7 separate regions of the Homo sapiens genome follow, and all the other regions are linked to region 3. The links are contacts of gene promoters, found by promoter capture Hi-C in blood cells and fetal thymus (Javierre and others, 2016). All regions are on one chromosome and are shown on one strand. Each heading gives the region's core, a stretch centred on a gene start or on the middle of the fragment in contact. The rest is flanking DNA. Distances are from core to core; before and after follow the strand shown.

Region 1 (2,700 bases), core at 44-2,543, 1.1 Mb before region 3:
AACTGACAGGTGTCAGGTAGTGAGAGTTTGGTATGTGATTTGTGTGTTCCACTTAATATTTCAGACACAGGTTGTTTAGGGCCACTTAACTGAAATGTACCTGAGAACATATTTGTTCCTCTCTGAGCTTTTAGTAAGCGTAGAGCAAGAATAACACTATGACATGTAATATATAAATCTTAAGATATTTTCAGCCTTCTTTGAATTTAGTTTGCAAGAAGGAGAGAATACTGTAGTATTCAAGTTTGTATTTTTATACTTAAACTTTGAAGACATAGCTTAATCAATTGTTTACAAATTTTTCAATAGCAGCATTCCAATTTTCAGGATCCTTTAAATATCAGTTTTCTTAGAAGTGAAGCTGAGGCTTGTGACAATCTCTTTTGCTCACATTCCTTTGAAAGTAGGTGGGAGAGAACTGCTATGAATAAAATGAGAAAGCAGAATTCAGATTTACTCTGAAGTATAAATGATTTCAGGCACAGTGCAGGACTACTTTTACAGCAGTGAAAAGACTATGACTCTGGTAGAACTCTGATAATAACATTTGAAATCTCTTTAGATAAAACTGAGAAGCCTAATGAGTAGGCCAGTGCTGTAGAGGGTACACTTTAGTTTATGAACTGCAATGCCACTTAAGATTCAGGAAAGTCTTCATTCATTTGTGATTTATTTCCTCGAGATATCATTGAGTCCCTAGATCCTAGATGCACAAATAAGACAATTCTTAGGGTCATACAAAACAGAAATGGTGAGAATATAAATTGCACTGTTGCTCTCTTGTTTTCAAAAATCAAAGTGAATCAGACTCCAAACAAAATGCCATGACTTATTAATTATTTGCCTGACACTGATAATCAAAATCTATCATGTAGCTGAAAATGATGGCTATCAAGGTTAAGAGGCTGGAGACTGAACGTCTACAACAGAATTTGAAATGTTACTCTCTACTATGTATTACAAGATTTTTTTTTTGTACAACTTGTATATCCCCAGTCTTACCTGTCATCAGCAAACCCATTGCTTTTTACCAACAGAAACTTTATTAATTTTTCCCTTCATCCCAACCCTTTCATATTGTGATGCAGTTACCTGCAAGGGACTCTCCATAATTGTGCTAATCGCTCAATACGGATTTCACAACCTATAAATTCCTTAATGCATTTTCAACATATGTATTTGCAACATACTATTGAAAATATAAAATTGAACACGTAAGGCCCCGCTGGGATTCGAACCCAGGATCTCCTGTTTACTAGACAGGCGCTTTGACCAGCTAAGCCACAGGGCCCCTGTTGGGCATATGTTCAGATATATCGTATTTATAACATTTTTGTAAAATGTATCAATTTGACAAAAGTGTACTTAATTTTGTGACAAAGAAAGCACATCTGTGTTTCTGAACCAGCAACAAAGCAGCAATTCCAACACTAAAAAAAATACTTTTCTTCAATGCAAGATTTCAGAATTTATTTCAAATTGAAATGAGTGAAATTTCTATTTCATGGTGACTATCTCCCCCTACAGGAAATATTGGATATCGCAACATATTTTAAATTTATTTCTCTGTTCGTGCATTCATTCTGTCCACAAATGTTGAGTCATTACTGCATTTCAGGTACTTTTCTAGGTATTGGAGAAAGAACATTGAATAAAACAGCAAAATTTTCTTCCATTATTGAATTTATGTTCTACAGGGAGATAAAACAACAACAAAAAACACCCCAAAACAAACTAACCAACTAAAAAAATCCAACAACAAACAAAAACACAAGTGATATGGAAACCAATCTCTTTACCGCTGGGTTATAGAACCCACGACACTACCTTCTGAGCTAATTCACTGCAATTGAGTAAAACCATTATGCTTCCTTCTATTTTATCTAATCTGGCACAAGAAAGTGAGCCTAGACGAGGACACAGTGATGTCGTGGAGATCTGTGGTCACCCTGCTTCCCACTTACCCAAACTAGGCACCTTGAGACCCTCTGTTTCAAAGACAGCTTTGGTCTCAACAGGAGATCTGCTGTTAGAAACAATGAGTTAGGTGTACACAGGGAGTTCTCCTGGATGGATATCTTTGCTTCTGTCATAGTCTTGTTCTGCTCATTTGCCTGCTGGGTTAAAATAGACTCAATTTCTAGACCCACATAGATTGTAAAACTGCGTGGATGATACAGAGAAGTAGAGAACAAAGTAGAGTACAATGTGATAGCCCTCACAGGATGCTGTGGGAACCTCTCACTTGGGCCTCACAGAGTTGCATGACCTTTTATCTCAGGTTCTTTGTCAGTTTAATGAATGCAGAAGGAGTCATGGAATGTTTAGCTGAATGCAGCTTAGCATGGGGAAAAGCAGATGAAACCAATATCCTGAAATATTTAAATAACTGCCTGGTGCTTTGCATATGCATTCATTAAGCATCCACAAAATGCAAGACCCTGGAAAGATGAGAAATTACTTAGGTTGAGGTTGAGTTTTTATTTTTTAACCAAGCCTGGTGTTGCTTCTGATTTATTTCCTGTGGGTCATGAACCTCTACTCACTACCTAGCTAATCACAAAGCCAGGTTATACCAATTTTTCAGCTTTATTGGCTGAGGTTTTTTGTGAAGCTTAGTTATGTATTCCCCGACTTCTGTTTCTCACTGACAGGTGTTTCATAAATCTTGGTATGTGTAAAACCCTGGAAGAAAAGCCC
Region 2 (2,700 bases), core at 18-2,517, 1.3 Mb after region 3:
AAAACTTGGGTGTCCTCTTCACTTACCTCTATCATTTTCTATCCAGATATTTTACTTTCTAGATTTTTTCTATTAAGTGTTTAAATTCATCCTTTTATCACCATTGCCAGTGCCATTTTCAGGCCTTAATCAACTCTAAATTTCCATGCCTGGTCTTTTATAAGGCCCTCTGTAATCTGACCCATCTTGTCTTTTCTTTTAGTATGTTTATCATGTACATTGTAGAAAATATAACACTAAATTTTTGTGTCTGGCTACTTTCACTCAATAAAAAAGCAACAGTCCTCTTCCCTACCCAGACCCATTTCCCAGATGCAGCCTTCATATAGTTGAAAATTCAAAAGGTACCAAAGTCTACACTGTGAAAAATCTCCCTCCCACAGGCAACCAACGTTATTAGTTTATTGTATATCCTGATCTTATAGCTAGTTTGTACCCATGGGTACGTCTACTCATTTTCCCACAAATGGCAGTGTATTAGCCTGTTCTCATACTGTTATGATGAAATATTCACAATTGGGTAATTTATAAAGAAAAAGAGGTTTAATGGACACACAGTTCCATATGGCTGGGGAGGCCTCACAATCATGGCAGAAGGTGAAGGAGGAGCAAAGGTACATCTTAAATGGTGGCAGGCAAGGGCAGGTATGCAGGGGAACTGCCCTTTATAAAACCATCAGATCTTGTGAGATTTATTCACTATCATGAGAACAACATGGAAAAAACCCACCCCCATGATTCAATTACTGCCCACCGGGTCCCTCCCATGACACAAGGGGATTATGGGAGCTACAATTTGAGATGAGATTTGGGTGGGGACACAGCCAAACCATATAAGGCATCATACTGTAGACACTGCTTTACCTATACAAATTGCAATTTTCATTTAATATAACAAAAATAGCAAGCAGTTCTCAAGCACTTTCTATTTTTCTATTAGTATTCTGAATGCTTTGCATGTTTTAACTCATTTAATCCTTGAGATAACCTCCTGGAGTAAGAGCTATTATAATCCCCATTTTACAAATGAGAAAACTGAGACACAAAGCCTAGGATTGGCAGAACTAGATTTGAACCCAGCAGGCAAGCCCTCAGAGCTCAGTACTTAACCATGATAGCATGTTACTATGTCTTAGGGATTGTTCTATATCTGGACATAAAGAATGTTTGCATCCTTTTTAAGCTTTTCTTTTATTGGAGTTGAAACATATGCTCAGGAAGGTGCACAAACCATATGTACAGATGAAGGAATCATTAGAGAGTGAAGATACCTGTATAATCACCACCTAGCTCAAGAAACCAGAACCCCAGAAGCACCCTCTCCTCTCATGTGCTCCTAATTAAAGCTTACAGCGATTATAAAATATAGTCCCCAAATACTACTTTGACACCATTCCTCACATCGAGAAATAATGTCTCTATCTCCTGCCCTTGAATCAAGATTGACAGCTTAACCCATAGAGTACTGCAGAAGTGATACTGTGCCAGTTTTCAGGCCAGGCCTTAAGAAACTGGCAGCTTTCTCTTCCTGTTTCTTGGGATGTTTGCTCTTGGAATCCAGCCACCATGATAAAGAAAAACCATGCAGCTACATGAGAGGACAAGTGTAGGTATTCTGGCCAACAGTCCCTGAGGTCCCAGCAAACAGTCGGCATTAACTGCCAGACATGTAAGTGGGTAAGACTCCCAGTGATTTCACCTCCAAGTCTCAAGTCCCCAACAACACCCGCCCTCACTGCCCCCAGCCTTTGAACTGTCCAAGCTTATGCTGTTGAGGCAGAGATGAGCTGTCCCCTCCAAGCCCTGCCGAAATTGCAGACTTGTTGGCAAAGCACATTGTGGTGGTTGTTCGAAGTTGCTAAGTTCAGAGTGGTTTTTTACTTACCAGTAGATAACTAGGGCACTATTTTCTTTTTCCTCCCAAGGGTAATCACTATCTTGACTTCTGCTACTATAGATTAGATTTGTTTTTCTTCAACCTATATAAATATAGTCTTATATGGTTATATAGTTTGTATTATACAAACTTATATAGTTAGCATTATTTTGTGTCTGGCTACTTTCGCTCAATGTAATGTTTGTGGGATTCATCCATGTTGTTGCATGTAGCTATCATTTATTATTGTAAAACATTTCTTTGTATGCCTATATTATATCACAATTTATTTATCCATTCTACTGTTGATGGACATTTAGGTTAGGTTATGTTTTATTTGGAGCTACTATGAATAATGATGCTTTAAATATTCTTTTTTTTTTTTTTTTTTTTGAGATGGAGTTTCGCTCTTGTTGCCCAGGCTAGAGTGCAATGGCACAATCTCGGCTCACCGCAACCTCCGTCTCCTGGATTCAAGCGATTCTCCTGCCTCAGCCTTCCGAGTAGCTGGGATTACAGGCATGGGCCACCACACCCAGCTAATTTTGTATTTTTAGTAGAGGTAGAGTTTCTCCATGTTGGTCAGGCTGGTCTCGAACTCCCGACCTCAGGTGATTCACCCGCCTTGGCCTCCGAAAGTGCTAGGATGACAGGCATGAGCCACCGCGCCCGGCCTCTTTTTTTTTTTTTTTTAATATATAAAAATGCTTTATTTTACTCTTTCCATCCTGAATAAAAGTTTAGCCAGTTATAGAATTGTGCTTGACATTTGTTAACCTTAGTACTTTGAAGAAATACACACTTCGTCATTCATTGCCTTTTTT
Region 3 (2,706 bases), core at 55-2,554:
CTCAAGAAAAAAATAGCAATTACTTGGGGTCGGAGAGTAAAATAAGAAGTAGTGAACCTTAAAGTAGCAAACTTTAGAACAGAATAGTTTCAGAGGGGATGAGAAGAGGTGATTTTTCAGCTCATCAACAACAGATCTTATAATAAATTACATGTTCTGGTACTTTTCTTGTCTTTCTGTGTTAAATTTTGCTATTTAAAAAAATAAATTTCAAATACATTGTTCATCTTAAAAGTCAAGAGTGTGTTTTATTAAAGTCAGTTGCTTTATTTGCAACTCAAAAGATATATTTGAGTTCCCAACTGGAGATTGTCCTATATGGTAACTTGCGTAAGGTATGGTTACTGAAAGTAACCTACAATTTTCATGGGCTGAAATTCATTTCTATATTGCAGCGTACAAAAATAAATAAATAAAAAATGCTTGTTTTCTTTGAAAACATATTATCTCAGTGCCTCTAACTGCCAAATCTATTGGCTTTTTTGCAGGCTTAAGGGCTCTCCCTTGTTCCTTTATGATCTCTATCTTGAGGGCCAGACCTCCTGCCTTACACAACTCAGAGGGGGACCTCAGAGCTCTTTAAAAAGAGCCCAATTTCTCGCCTGTAGAGAAGTGAAAAGGATGCCCCACCCCCATCTATGAAAAGAGGGATTTGATAGTTTCAATGTCTTCAAATCAAAGATTTAAGTCTGTAGCCCCCCACCACCCCGGACCCTAGCAAGGCTCATGAACCCCCTCCCATCCCGCCCTAATTGCTTTGGACTGGCCGTGGAATCCTTGTCCCAGTCCACAGTTCCTGTGCGACTGCACGAAGAATTCACAGAGGACCTGTGTTACTTCCCTTGTGAAGAAACAGAATTATCATGAAAATTTAGGTGGAAACCATTTCGCTTTTTTCTTCAAAAATAAGGGAAGCATGTGCCCAACCACCCCTGGGAAAAAGAACCTTCAGGGGCAAAGGAGCGAACAGGTAATTTATAAGAAAAACAGAAAGTGGTCTCTGACTGCCCCAGACTTCCTTCGGAGTTGGGGGAATTGGGGACGCCTGGACGCGTTGTTTTTGTGTTTGTGGAAAAAATAAATGAAGAGCATGAAGCCCGAGGCTTCTGAGATCCTTTCCTGACCAAACCCAAGTGATTTGGTGCGGGGAATTTTAATATTTTTCCCCTTTTGTGAGGTGGAACAAACACAACTTGGGAGCAGCGCAGCGGCTCAGAGCCTGCCAGCCAGGCGGGCGACCAGAGCACCAATCAGAGCGCGCCTGCGCTCTATATATACAGCGGCCCTGCCCAGGCGCTGCTTCATCGGCGCTTTGCCACTTGTACCCGAGTTTTTGATTCTCAACATGTCCGAGACTGCTCCTGCCGCTCCCGCTGCCGCGCCTCCTGCGGAGAAGGCCCCTGTAAAGAAGAAGGCGGCCAAAAAGGCTGGGGGTACGCCTCGTAAGGCGTCTGGTCCCCCGGTGTCAGAGCTCATCACCAAGGCTGTGGCCGCCTCTAAAGAGCGTAGCGGAGTTTCTCTGGCTGCTCTGAAAAAAGCGTTGGCTGCCGCCGGCTATGATGTGGAGAAAAACAACAGCCGTATCAAACTTGGTCTCAAGAGCCTGGTGAGCAAGGGCACTCTGGTGCAAACGAAAGGCACCGGTGCTTCTGGCTCCTTTAAACTCAACAAGAAGGCAGCCTCCGGGGAAGCCAAGCCCAAGGTTAAAAAGGCGGGCGGAACCAAACCTAAGAAGCCAGTTGGGGCAGCCAAGAAGCCCAAGAAGGCGGCTGGCGGCGCAACTCCGAAGAAGAGCGCTAAGAAAACACCGAAGAAAGCGAAGAAGCCGGCCGCGGCCACTGTAACCAAGAAAGTGGCTAAGAGCCCAAAGAAGGCCAAGGTTGCGAAGCCCAAGAAAGCTGCCAAAAGTGCTGCTAAGGCTGTGAAGCCCAAGGCCGCTAAGCCCAAGGTTGTCAAGCCTAAGAAGGCGGCGCCCAAGAAGAAATAGGCGAACGCCTACTTCTAAAACCCAAAAGGCTCTTTTCAGAGCCACCACTGATCTCAATAAAAGAGCTGGATAATTTCTTTACTATCTGCCTTTTCTTGTTCTGCCCTGTTACTTAAGGTTAGTCGTATGGGAGTTACTGAGGTATCAGACGAATTGGGTGACGGGGTTGGAGAGTGGCCGTGGTGAGGTTACAGCATTTAAACCTTTATTGCGGCTTCTAGGTCCCTGACCGGAGGCTTTTCTCGCTGGCGGATGGTTTTGGGATGGCAGTCCCGCCCCAGGCCTGTGAACGGCAGAAAAGACCGCAAAACAAGAGCCAGTTTCTTAGTCTAAAGGGATGTCCGGATTGGACTAAAAAATTTTCAAAAGTCCCGCCCTGCTCCCGGGTTGGTCCGTTCTTCTAGTACATGACTTTCATTCTGTATTTAATTGGATGGTGGAAGACGTTGCTTATTCTGTGTTTTTTGCTTTACTGTGACTTAAAAGTTTTGCCTCTTTTCTCTTTATATTAATGTCTGGGATTTCGGACGCTTTCCATGTTGTTGGTAGTCAAGTTGATGTCTCCTGGAGGTAGTGGCAACATCCAGCCCTGGGAGGAGAGTGCGTGCAGGTACCTTTGTCCTACATTCCTCTGCTGTTAATTTCTCATTCCTGTGGCAACGAAGGAATGCATTTAAAAAACAGCCACAACAGCGGCAATAGCCCTTCCTCCACCCAAG
Region 4 (2,700 bases), core at 40-2,539, 1.4 Mb before region 3:
TCTTTCCACATGAGGTCTATTCCACAATGGTGCAATACGGGACACACCTTCAGGAGGAAAGCACTTTCAAATGTGCAAACTCATATAATGTGCTTCCCTTCTCTCAAGGATTGTAGTTTGTCAAGCCTTGCCTGGGTTGACAGCTTATCAGTGCCTTCAAACAGTTGCTTTAAGTCGGGCTTGGTGGCTCACACCTGTAATCCCAGCATTTTGGGAGGCTGAGGCAGGTAGATCACGAGGTCAGGAGTTCAAGACCAGCCTGGCCAACGTGGTGAAACCCTGTCTCTACTCAAAATACACGCCTGCAATCCCAGCTACTCGGGAGGCTGAGCCAGGAGAATGGCTCGAACTCAGGAGGCAGAGGTTGTGGTGAGCCAAGATTGCGCCATTGCACAGCAGCTTGGGCGATAGAGCGAGACTCTGTCTCAAAAAAAAAAAAAAGCCAGAAACAAACAAACAAACAAAACAATTGCTTTATAGTTCTTATCCACGATGAATCATTTTTCTTCTAGATTAAAAAAGAAATAATAGATTAAAAGGAAGTAATAGAGACAAACGAGATTCAATGTTAGGTGAAAAGGATGAGGCATCAATCACTCTACTGTTCAATAGTGTTAACGAAAAAAAGAATCCATTGGCTGAAAGTGTTGCACAATAATATTAACTTTTAAATTTGATGGCCAAAATTTCATGACAAAAATGTTAATAATAATTATTTTTCTTTTTTTTTTTTTTGGAGACAGAGTCTTGCTCTGTCGCCCAGGCTGGAGTGCAATGCTGCAATCTTGGTTCACTGCAACCTCCGCCTCCCGGGTTCAAGTGATTCTCCTGCCTCAGCCTCCGAGTAGCTGGGATTACAGGTGCCCGCCACCACACCCAGCTAATTTTTGTATTTTTAGTAGAGATGGGGTTTCAGCAGGTTGGCCAGGCTGGTATCGAACTCCAGACCTCAGGTGATCCACCCGCCTCAGCCTCCCAAAGTGCTTGGATTAGAGGCATGAGCCACCTCGCCTGGCCAATAAGTATTTTTAAAACAAAATCAGACATATTGTTATATGCTGGAAGAGTATTCTTTCATTAAAGAAGCAATGCTGTTGGCTTTGATTATGGCTCACAAAAATATTGCTTTTAATATTCATCCATTCAGCGTTGGTCGAGGGTATATACTAGGTACACTTCTAATTCCTACCTTATTATAAAGGAGCTTAGAATGATTTGGATTTCGCCATACCTTTCCATTTTATATTGTCGTTGCTGTTTTGAAATTTAGTACCATTTGTTTTCATATTCCAACATGTAATCATTACGAAACAATGTTGTTTCAGGCATTCACTCTTTATGTAGCTTTTGTCACATGTTATGAATTTTCTTGCTCACTTATAACATTTTGAATCCCACTCCTTCATCAGTTCTAAATTCCTATTCATTAATGTAGTCGTCACTCTTGTCATATGCATTGTTCAAAATTGTATATTTGCCCTTTTACATTTTAATTCGTATATTTTCATTTATAGTTTTATTAGGCTTTTCTCCTTTTAACTTTCCATTCTGAAATTATTTTAGACTGACAGACACAGTACATGAATAATACAGATAATTCCTGAGCACCCTTCACCCCAATTCCCTCAATATTAGCACATTAAGGATATTCCTATATTTTCTTTTCCTTCTCTCTCTCATATATATACATAAATGTATATTTCTGAACTATTTGACAGTGAGTTTGAAGACACATACCTCCCCTTACCCTTAAATACGTATTTTGTAAATAGGTGTGAATTTTCTTAAAGACATTTTGTTCTATAACCATAGAACAATTAATACAATCAGGAATTCACATTCATAATATTATAAAATCTATAGACTTTATTGAGATTTCACCAACTATTTCAATAATGTCCTTTAAGATAAAAATTCCAGACCATATGTTGCTGTCATATCTTTAAGATCTTCTATAATGTGGACTATTTAGTCAGCCTTTCTTTGTGTTCTGTAACTTTGTTATTTTATTTATTTGTTTATTTATTTATTTATTTATTTATTTATTTTTCCTCCCTGCTTGCCTGTTACTAGGTTGATGCAAAAGTAATTGCAGTTTTTGAGGCGTACAAGTCAGTTATTTTGTTAAAATCTCCCTCAATATGGGTTTGTCTGATGTTTTCTGATTTAGATTACATATTTTTGCCAAGAATACCACAAAAGTGACGTTGTGCTCTCATGAGCACATCCTGTAAAAAAGGTATATAATGTAGATTCGTCCCAATACTGATTCAATCACTTGGGTAAGATGGTATCTACCCGGTTTCTCCACTGTGATGGAGATTACAGTGCAGAGTGGAAATTTTCTTGCTATTACAGAACCTCATGATTTCTACAGCTTATGGTTTTTGCGATCAGTATTTCGTTGGTTTGAAAGAACTCTGCTAAAGAAAAAGAGAACCCAACATTTGCCCAGAAGACTAGAGACTGTGTTTACCGGAAGTGTGCTTTTCTAAAAAAAAGTTTAAGCCTCCTCCCCGTCGGGGAATCGAACCCCGGTCTCCCGCGTGACAGGCGGGGATACTCACCACTATACTAACGAGGAATTGACGTGAAAATGGAGCTCTTAGGAAATCCCTGTGAAGTTACTCGCTATTGTCCATCTTTCTTTGCTCTGTAGTCACACGTTTCCCCTACCAAATATACGCAAGGCAATTCAGC
Region 5 (2,700 bases), core at 66-2,565, 1.7 Mb before region 3:
TTATCTATGTTCACAGATAACATGACTTTTTTTTGAGAGAGAGATGGGATCTCTCTTTGTCACCCAGGCTGGGATGCAGCAGAGCAATTATGCCTCACTGAAGCCTCGACTTCCCTGGTTCAAGCGATTACCCTGCCTCATCCTCCGGAGTAACTGGGACCACAGGCGCCTGCCACCATGCCCGGCTAATAAAAAAAATTTTAGAGACTAGGGTCTCGCTATGTTGCCCGTGTTGCCCAGGCTGGTCTCGAACTCCTGGGCTCAGGCGATCCTCCTACCTTGGCCTCCCAAAGTGCTGGGATTACAGGTGTGAGCCACCAAGCCTGGCCGTGACATGATTTTTATATATAGAAAACCCTGAAAATTACACACACACACTCAAACACACACACACACAAACTGTTACAGCAAATAAAGAAATTTAGCAAAATAAGGATAAACAACCACATGAGTTCCAGCAGAGAGCGCGGTGGGAAGCGGAGCGCGGCCAGCTGCTCTGGGGCCCTGCAGACCCTCTGGTCTTGGACCTGAGGAGGAGACGGGGGCCCGGCCCCGCGGCGGCCTCTGCTCTGCAGGCTCCCAGAGTCCTTGCTGTGTCTCCCACCGGCCAGGCCCAGGCCTGAGGCAGCGTCGAACCTCTCTTCACTTCCCACCTCGGTGACCTGGTGGCCCTCTGGTCTTCCAGAAAACCCTGCCGGGCCTAGACTAAGCCCCCGCTGGCCGCCAGGACGCAGCGCCTTTGTGTGGCGGCGGGTGTCGGGGGCGGGAAGAATCGCGCGGAAGCTGCCGGGGTGTGCAGGGACCGGGAAGGCGGAGCTAGGGATGCAGGTTCGGTCGCCTCTTTAGGCCACTGCGCCACGCAGATTGGGTCCAGAAGGTGCCGTTAAGTTTCTTCCCAGAAACTGTCAAGGTGCTGGTATGTTTCTTGCCCTTGCACTTTTAGTGTACTAAAATCAACGGCCAAACTCTACTCTTTATAGCAATCAAAGTATTCACCCATGCGCCCAATTTCTTTGCAAATGCCAAGCAAGAAAACCTCAGGTAGATGGAGGGAGCAGATAATTTGACTTTTTTTTTCTTTAATTTCACTATAGTGTCCTCCTCCACACATACAAGGATGAAGTTTTGTTTTTTAAGATGAAACAAATTTGTCATTAATGAAAGGATTGTCAAAATCTTCCCAAAGGTCCTCAGCTTCTGAATCACCTGGAAGCTTCTAAAAATTAAGACTTGTGGGCCATACCAGAGACCCTCTGCACTAGAAGGGGGTATGGCAAGGAATCTTAGGAATAGTCCACCTGGAGAATCACTAGCGTAAGTTCTGGGCCTCACATTCCCTCAGAAGAGTCCCATGAACCTGTGGTCAGCAGCTTAGGGCTGGTCTTCTTTACTGATCTGAGGGACAATGGGAAGCTTAGGACTCCCTGCATGGCATCTCTCCCGCCCAGGGGAGAACAGCTCAACAAATTTCCTCATTAACTACAAAGTTAAATGGAAGCATATGCTATGAAAATGCCACAAAAAGCTGTTGCTAGATGAAAATGTCTAAATTTGCTTTAAATTATCATGGGGGCTTGGCAGAGGGAGGAGAGACTAATTGTTGAAGTAGGATCATGGAAATAAGGAGGTCCATAATATTCTCTATAATCTTTTTTTGTCATAAACAGGGGTTTATAAAACTACCTAGTATAGCATGGTGGTCAAGAACACCAGTTCTGGAGACAAACACACCTGGTGGTGTCCTTTCCTAGCTAGCATAACCTCAGCACATTGTTCAAGCCTTAACTTGCTCAAATGTAAACCCGAAATGACAGGGATAGATCTTGACTCAGGAGGCTTGACAAGGCTAAAAGTAATACTAAAAATAAAAGCAGTAACTACTTCTGTAAGTTGAGCACTGTCTGAAACACTTCAGGGAGTTTTTCTTAATTGAGTTTATGATAATTCTATGAGGTACACACTGTATCCATATCCATTTTACCAGCACAGACAGAGTCATGAAGAAGCCAAATAGCTTGCCTGAAACCCTACATATGATGAGAAAGTGGCAGAGGAAGGAATTGTACTCAGATATTTTGGCTCCAAAGATCCCTGCCAGATCTGCCCTGCCAGTTCATAAGGACTAAGAAGATGCCTCCTCTCTATACTACCATCCAAATGCTTCGCAATCTGTACGTCTGTTGCTCCACTTTTTGCTTATGGCATATTGGCTGCTCATGTTCCTCTTTCTTCTCCTTGAGAGTTAGGATTGTGTAATCTTGTCCTGCATGCCTCTGGTACTCCTAGTGACAACATAGGGTCACAATTGTCTGGCACATTGTTTGTAGCTCAATAATTTATTTTTCTTTTTAAAAAAATTTGAAATGGGGATCTCGCAATGTTGCCCAGGCTGTCTCGAACTCATGGCTCAAGTGATCATCCCGCCTAAGCCTCCCAAAGTGCTAGAATTACAGGCATGAGCCACTGTGCCCAGCCAATAATTTATTTTAATTAATATGAAATAAATGTGTTTACAACAATTTTTTTTAAATTAGAGATGGAGTCTCCCTATATTGCCCAGGCTGGAGGGCAGTGGCTTTTCACAGACACAATCATTGCACATGCAACCTCAAACTCCTGGGCTCAAGTGATCTTCCTGATTTACTTCGTCTCCAGAGTAACTAGAACTACAGGTACACCACTATGTCCAGTTTAACAATA
Region 6 (2,716 bases), core at 217-2,716, 1.3 Mb after region 3:
AATTAAAAAAACAATTTTTTAAATTAAAAATGGGTAAAAGGCCGAGCTTGGTGGCTCACACCTGTAATCCCAACACTTTGGGAGGCCGAGGTGGGTGGATCACTTGAGGTCAGGAGTCTGAGACGAGCCTGGCCAACATGGTGAAACTCCGTCTCTACTAAAAATACAAAAATCATCCGGGCATGGTGGTGGGGGCCTGTGGGCCCAGCTACTCGGGGCTGAGGCAGAAGAACTGCTTGAACCCAGGAAGCGGAGGTTGCAGTGAGCTGAGATAATGCCACTGCACTTCAGCCTGGGCAACATAGCGAGACTCTGTCTCAAAAAATAAATAAATAAACAAGTAGATAAATAAAAATGGGCAAAAGTTCTGAATAGACATTTCTCCAAAGAAGATATTAGAACAGCCAATAAGCACATGAAAAGATGCTCAACATCATTAATCGTTGGGGAAAGGAAAATCAAAACCACCATGACATACATCATACCCACTAGGATGGTTATACTAAAAAAGACATAATAACAAGAATGTGGAGAAATTGGAATACACTGCTGGAGGAAATGTAAAATGATGCAACAGACTTGGAAAACATCTGGCAGTTTCTCACATGGTTAAAGATAGAGTTAACATATATCCCAGTAATTCCACTCTTAAGTATATGCCCAAGAGAATTAAAAACATACGTCTATACAAAAGCTTTTAAGTAAATGTTCATAGCAGCATTATTTATAACAGCCAAAAGGCAGAGACAACTCAAATGTCCATCAACTGATGAATGAATATAGAATTTCATACAATACATATTATTCCACAATAAAAAGGAATTAAGTACTGATACATGCTACAACATGGATGAACCTTGAAAACATTATGCTAAGTGAAGAAGCCAGTCACAAAAGACCACATATTAAATGATTTCATTTATATGAAATTTCAGAAACGGCAAATCTATAGACAGAACATAAACTAGAAAGAAGAGAAGTGACTGCTAATAGGTACAGGGTTTCTTTTTGGGGTAATGTAATGGCTGCACAACACTGAATATATTAAAAACCATTGGATTGTACACTTCAAGTAGATAAATACGGTATGTGAATTATATTTCAATAAAGCTGTTATTTTAAAAATTCTTCCATGAAGTTGATCATGGATACAAGTCAAGGCCAGGTCAAGAACATATAAGCCGGCTGGGAATGGTGGCTCATGCCTGTAATCCCAACACTTTGGGAGGTTGAGGCAGGCGGATCACCTGAAGATCATACTGGCTTGTATGTCTCATATGTTTGTTTGTTTTTTTTTTTTTTTCCGACGGAGTCTCACTCTGTTGCCCAGGCTGGAGTGCAATGGTGCGATCTCGGCTCACTGCAATCTCCGCCTCCCGGGTTCAAGCGATTCTCCTGCCTCAGCCTCTCGAGTAGCTGGGACTGCAGGCGCCTGCCACCAAGCCAGGCTGATTTTAGTATTTTCAGTAGAGACGAGGTTTCACCATGTTGGCCAGGCTGGTCTCGAACTCCTGACCTTAGGTGATCCGCCTGCCTCGGTCTCCCAAAGTGCTGGCATTACAGGCGTGAGCCACCATGCTCGGCTTACTTTTAAAAATCTTTCTTTTTTAAACCAATGCTCTAAACTACGTGACATTTTCTGTTTTATCTCTGTGAGCTTTCCATAGTTACATGATTTTGAAAACAAATCAGCAAAGCACTAGCAAAATGCAAGCTGTATCTTCCGAGATTAGAAGTTATTTGGAAATCTCAGGACTCATCCTTTGGTTCTGGACAATTTATATTGAAGGGTGGGTACCAGTTATTCTTTTGGCTCATGGCTGAAATAATGTTATTACAGCTGATCTGTTTTGACTTCACGAAGTGAAAAGTAGTAATTGGGGTCCCAATGGACTTCTAAAATCTCAGAGTAGCCAATGAGTATATAAGCATTGCTTATGTGGAGTATTGACCTTTGCTAAGTACTTACATAACTGTGTTTTAAAGAGCACATTAGAGCTTTGAAAAATGGACTCAACGCTTTTTGGTGCCAAGGACGTGCGACTCGGCGGCAAACGTTTCGATGAAGACAGTGAACCACCTAAGGGGCAGGCTGTAGGTCTGAGGTCTTGGGGGATTCTAACAGAAAGTGTGTTCTGACAGCAGTGGGTAAAAATCCACGAGTCAGACTGGGCTGCTCCTCTCCTAAGCCACAGCAGCAACGTCTGAACAACGTCTTTGACCTTGTTCGAAGCTTGAGGACCGCCCTCCCTGCCTGCGCACGTGGCGGGGTGGGGACAGAGGCAAGTAGCACTAACATGAGACATCTGCTCCCGCACGCCGTTTAAATTCCAGGTGTCGAATTGAGTTCTAGGTTTGTTGCCGCAGGATACCGCGGGGCCGACCCCCAGGACTAACTAATTATAAGAATCGAAATAAGAATCTTCCAATCTCCAACACACACTTTCCTTTTCCTTCTTTGCTCCGCCCCTACCCTCGCCCACTCTCCGCCGACTTCCGCAGTTTTGGCCCGCCCAGGTCGCTAGTTCGGCTCTGTCACGCGCCCAGCCTGACTCTGAGAGGCTGACGAGACTCGGGAAGTGCGACTCCATCCGGGTGTTTTGTTGAGGATGGTTGAGGGCGTGCTTTTATGACGACATCGGGGCGGGGCGAAGAGCCAACTCAGGAGACTGGGACTTCCTGAAGAAGGGGGGCGGAAGGAGTGGCGGGGAGCCCC
Region 7 (2,700 bases), core at 85-2,584, 1.7 Mb before region 3:
GGCCTCTTAAGATCAGCTCACTCTAGAACCAGTTGATTCCAACAATCCCCTTCAAGTTGCGAGTTGCCCTTTCCAAATCTACCAAACATGCTTCAAAACCTGACATTTCTTTCTTTAAGAGCTGCTTTGGGCTCAGGAGCAGAAACAGGAGAAAAGTCAAGCAAAGCCCTCAGAAGCCCTTAGAGAGAATCGAGGAAGGCATTAAGTCAGACTACTCTCCTTAGAGAGAAAGTATATTAGCCAGTTCGCTTGTTTCCTGTCCCCAATAAAATTTCTTTCCCAACACTAGAAGTATTTTTGCGTATTGACCTAGAAGTATTTTTGCATATTGACCTAACGCCTTTTGCAGCTTTCCGGGCGCCTGGTGTACCCACGCAGCCCCACCTTATCCCCACCCCTATCCCTGCCGTTGAATTCATAAAAAGGGGCTTCCTACCCTAACCCTTTGGTGTTATGTCTGCGGACAGCTTTCACTTTCAGCGAATGTGGGCTTTCCCAGCCAAGGGCCCAAACAGAGACCTTTGATACTCCTTCATCCTGTGCTATGTCAAGAAAGTCCCTTCTGAAACTTTTATTTTGCTCTTTTCACCAACTTGCTTTTCCCGTTTTCTCAGAGTTTCTCTGTCTTCAGGAAAGCCTTGTGTTTCCAGTTCCAGGTCAGGCATAGGATTGGTGGCCATTACTCTCCACCAATTTCATTTACGTTTTCTTTCTTTTTTTTTTTTTTTCCTTTTCTAAAAAGACAGGGTGAGACACTGAGGCAGATATACTGGGGTTAGGAAGATATCCCAGAATAAGAGCATGAGAAAGCAGGCTGGAATGGTTCATGTGGACAAGATGAGTCCTAAGCAAAACTGAACCAGGTCCCACCAGGACCTGACGTGGGGCCACTAGATTTGGAGCCATGGGTATTAACTATCACAGCAGGGAGCCCCAACCCCTGGGCCACTGACCCGGTACTGGTCAGTGGTAGTGGCAGCCTGTTAGAAACCGGACCACACAGCAGAAGGTGAGCAGCAGGAGAGCCAGTGAAGCTTCATCTGTATTTATAGCTGCTCCCCATCACTCTCATTACCGCCTGAACTCCACCTCCTGTCAGATCATCTGAGGCATTAGATTCTTATAGGAGTTCTAACCCAATTGTAAACTGCCCATTTGAGGGATCTATGTTGCCCACTCTTTATGAGAATCTAATGCCTGATGATCTGTCACTGTTTCCCATAACCTCCTGATGGGACCATCTAGTTGTAGGAAAACAAGCTCAGGGCTCCGTCTGATTCTACATTATGGTGAGTTGTATAATTATTATATATCACAATGTAATAATAGAAATAAAGTGCACAATAAATGTAATGCATTTGAATCATCCTGAAACCATTCCCCTCTCCCCCAACCCCTGTCCATGGAAAAACTGTCTTCCATGAAACCAGTCCCTGGTGCCAAAAAGGTCTGGGACCGAGGCATCACAGCACTGAATTGCTGCTTACACTACAGGTGTTGCCAGAGGGCTCAGAAGGGTTTCCAGAAGCCAGTGAGACCCCAGCCCCAGCCCCAGCCAGTTTCCAGGTTCTTGACACCTTCGTAAGAAAGAATTCAGGGAGGAGTCAGAATGAAGCCAAAGGCAAGAAGCTTTTATTGCTAAGCAAAAGTACACACTTAGGGAAGTGTGGGTGAGCTCATGAGAATGAGTCGTGCCCAACAGAGTTTGAGTTTTCTATTTTTATGGGCTCTTGTAATTAGAGGGTGGACTAATCATGAGGTTTTCTGGGGGAAAGGCGAAGGTTTCATAAAATTGAGATGCCACCCATTTTTATATTAAATATGGGCGTACTCGATCTGTCAGGGCGCTGGTGGGTGTGTAATTTCGTATGGTAATTAGCATATAATTAGGTCTTGGGTAGGGCATGGGTCAAATCCAGCGCCATGTTGGACCCAGACGGTTTCAGACAGCTTAGCCACCATCCTGTTTGTTAGGGTCTTATCAGCCCAAGTTCTTTCTTGTCCTTGTAGCTAATTTTAACAGCTCCTTTTTTGCTGTTATGTGAAATTACTGCTTGATGTTTCTCCTATGACTACCCAGCATTCCTATCAAATAGAGATGAGATTTATCACCTTCCTTGTTCCCCTGGCCCTCTCACTCCACTAGCATGAACCCTTCAGTGACTCAGGTGCCTGATCTCAGCCTCTTTCAGAAAATAATCTGAGTGGAAAAACATTTTTATAGCCGCAAGCCAGGACTCCTCCCCTCCCCTCCACCAAATGCCCTATTTTCCTCTCAAAGGGGTTTAGGTCTGTGTTGCATGGGCCTTCTCTGTGGGGAAAAGCAAGAGAGATCAGATTGTTACTGTGTCTGTGTAGAAAGAAGTAGACATAGGAGACTCCATTTTGTTCTGTACTAAGACAAATTCTTCTGCCTTGAGATTCTGTTAATCTATGAACTTACTCCCAACCCCGTGCTCTCTGAAACATGTGCTGTGTCAAACTCAGGGTTAAATGGATTAAGGGCGGTGCAAGATGTGCTTTGTTAAACAGATGCTTGAAGGCAGCATGCTCGTTAAGCGTCATCACCACTCCCTAATCTCAAGTACCCAGGGACACAAACACTGCAGAAGGCCGCAGGGACCTCTGCCTAGGAAAGCCAGGTATTGTCCAAGGTTTCTCCCCATGTGATAGTCTGAAATATGGCCTCTTGGGAAGGGA

What was found. The method cuts DNA at HindIII sites, captures the fragments that hold promoters and counts their contacts. A CHiCAGO score of 5 or more calls a contact.
Region 1: a fragment that was not itself captured here is called in contact with the fragment with the promoter of H1-2 in region 3 in 1 of 17 cell types (total B cells); the score reaches 5.2 in total B cells.
Region 2: a contact is called between a fragment that was not itself captured here and the fragment with the promoter of H1-2 in region 3, in 1 of 17 cell types (M1 macrophages). The highest score is 5.1, in M1 macrophages.
Region 4: a contact is called between a fragment that was not itself captured here and the fragment with the promoter of H1-2 in region 3, in 1 of 17 cell types (naive CD8 T cells). The highest score is 6.1, in naive CD8 T cells.
Region 5: a contact is called between a fragment that was not itself captured here and the fragment with the promoter of H1-2 in region 3, in 1 of 17 cell types (monocytes). The highest score is 7.2, in monocytes.
Region 6: a fragment that was not itself captured here is called in contact with the fragment with the promoter of H1-2 in region 3 in 1 of 17 cell types (M0 macrophages); the score reaches 6.0 in M0 macrophages.
Region 7: a contact is called between a fragment that was not itself captured here and the fragment with the promoter of H1-2 in region 3, in 1 of 17 cell types (M2 macrophages). The highest score is 7.0, in M2 macrophages.

What each region holds. Positions count from the first base shown.
Region 1 is chr6:27,160,862-27,163,561 of GRCh38, reverse strand. It overlaps TRT-AGT6-1 (tRNA-Thr (anticodon AGT) 6-1), which reads right to left and starts at 1,291; the gene lies at 1,218-1,291. The HindIII fragment of the contact is 2,646 bases long and covers 1-2,616 here.
Region 2 is chr6:24,737,798-24,740,497 of GRCh38, reverse strand. No RefSeq gene overlaps it. Among named protein-coding and RNA genes, the nearest start is that of LINC02828, 3.2 kb to the left of the region's middle. The HindIII fragment of the contact is 163 bases long and covers 1,186-1,348 here.
Region 3 is chr6:26,055,068-26,057,773 of GRCh38, reverse strand. H1-2 (H1.2 linker histone, cluster member) reads left to right here and starts at 1,304. Exons shown (of 1, transcript NM_005319.4): 1 at 1,304-2,034. The coding sequence starts at 1,346. The coding sequence ends at 1,987. RefSeq lists enhancers at 1,252-1,651, 1,742-1,791, 2,202-2,706 and a silencer at 2,282-2,351. The HindIII fragment of the contact is 9,556 bases long and covers 1-2,706 here.
Region 4 is chr6:27,479,558-27,482,257 of GRCh38, reverse strand. It overlaps TRD-GTC2-6 (tRNA-Asp (anticodon GTC) 2-6), which reads right to left and starts at 2,584; the gene lies at 2,513-2,584. RefSeq lists a silencer at 2,472-2,531. The HindIII fragment of the contact is 3,440 bases long and covers 1-2,700 here.
Region 5 is chr6:27,755,486-27,758,185 of GRCh38, reverse strand. No RefSeq gene overlaps it. Among named protein-coding and RNA genes, the nearest start is that of TRV-AAC1-5, 3.4 kb to the right of the region's middle. The HindIII fragment of the contact is 200 bases long and covers 1,216-1,415 here.
Region 6 is chr6:24,721,178-24,723,893 of GRCh38, reverse strand. No RefSeq gene overlaps it. Among named protein-coding and RNA genes, the nearest start is that of C6orf62, 3.4 kb to the right of the region's middle. RefSeq lists enhancers at 1,897-1,986, 2,037-2,086, 1,678-2,471, 2,217-2,716. The HindIII fragment of the contact is 1,539 bases long and covers 697-2,235 here.
Region 7 is chr6:27,775,041-27,777,740 of GRCh38, reverse strand. No RefSeq gene overlaps it. Among named protein-coding and RNA genes, the nearest start is that of TRQ-CTG6-1, 15 kb to the left of the region's middle. The HindIII fragment of the contact is 595 bases long and covers 1,037-1,631 here.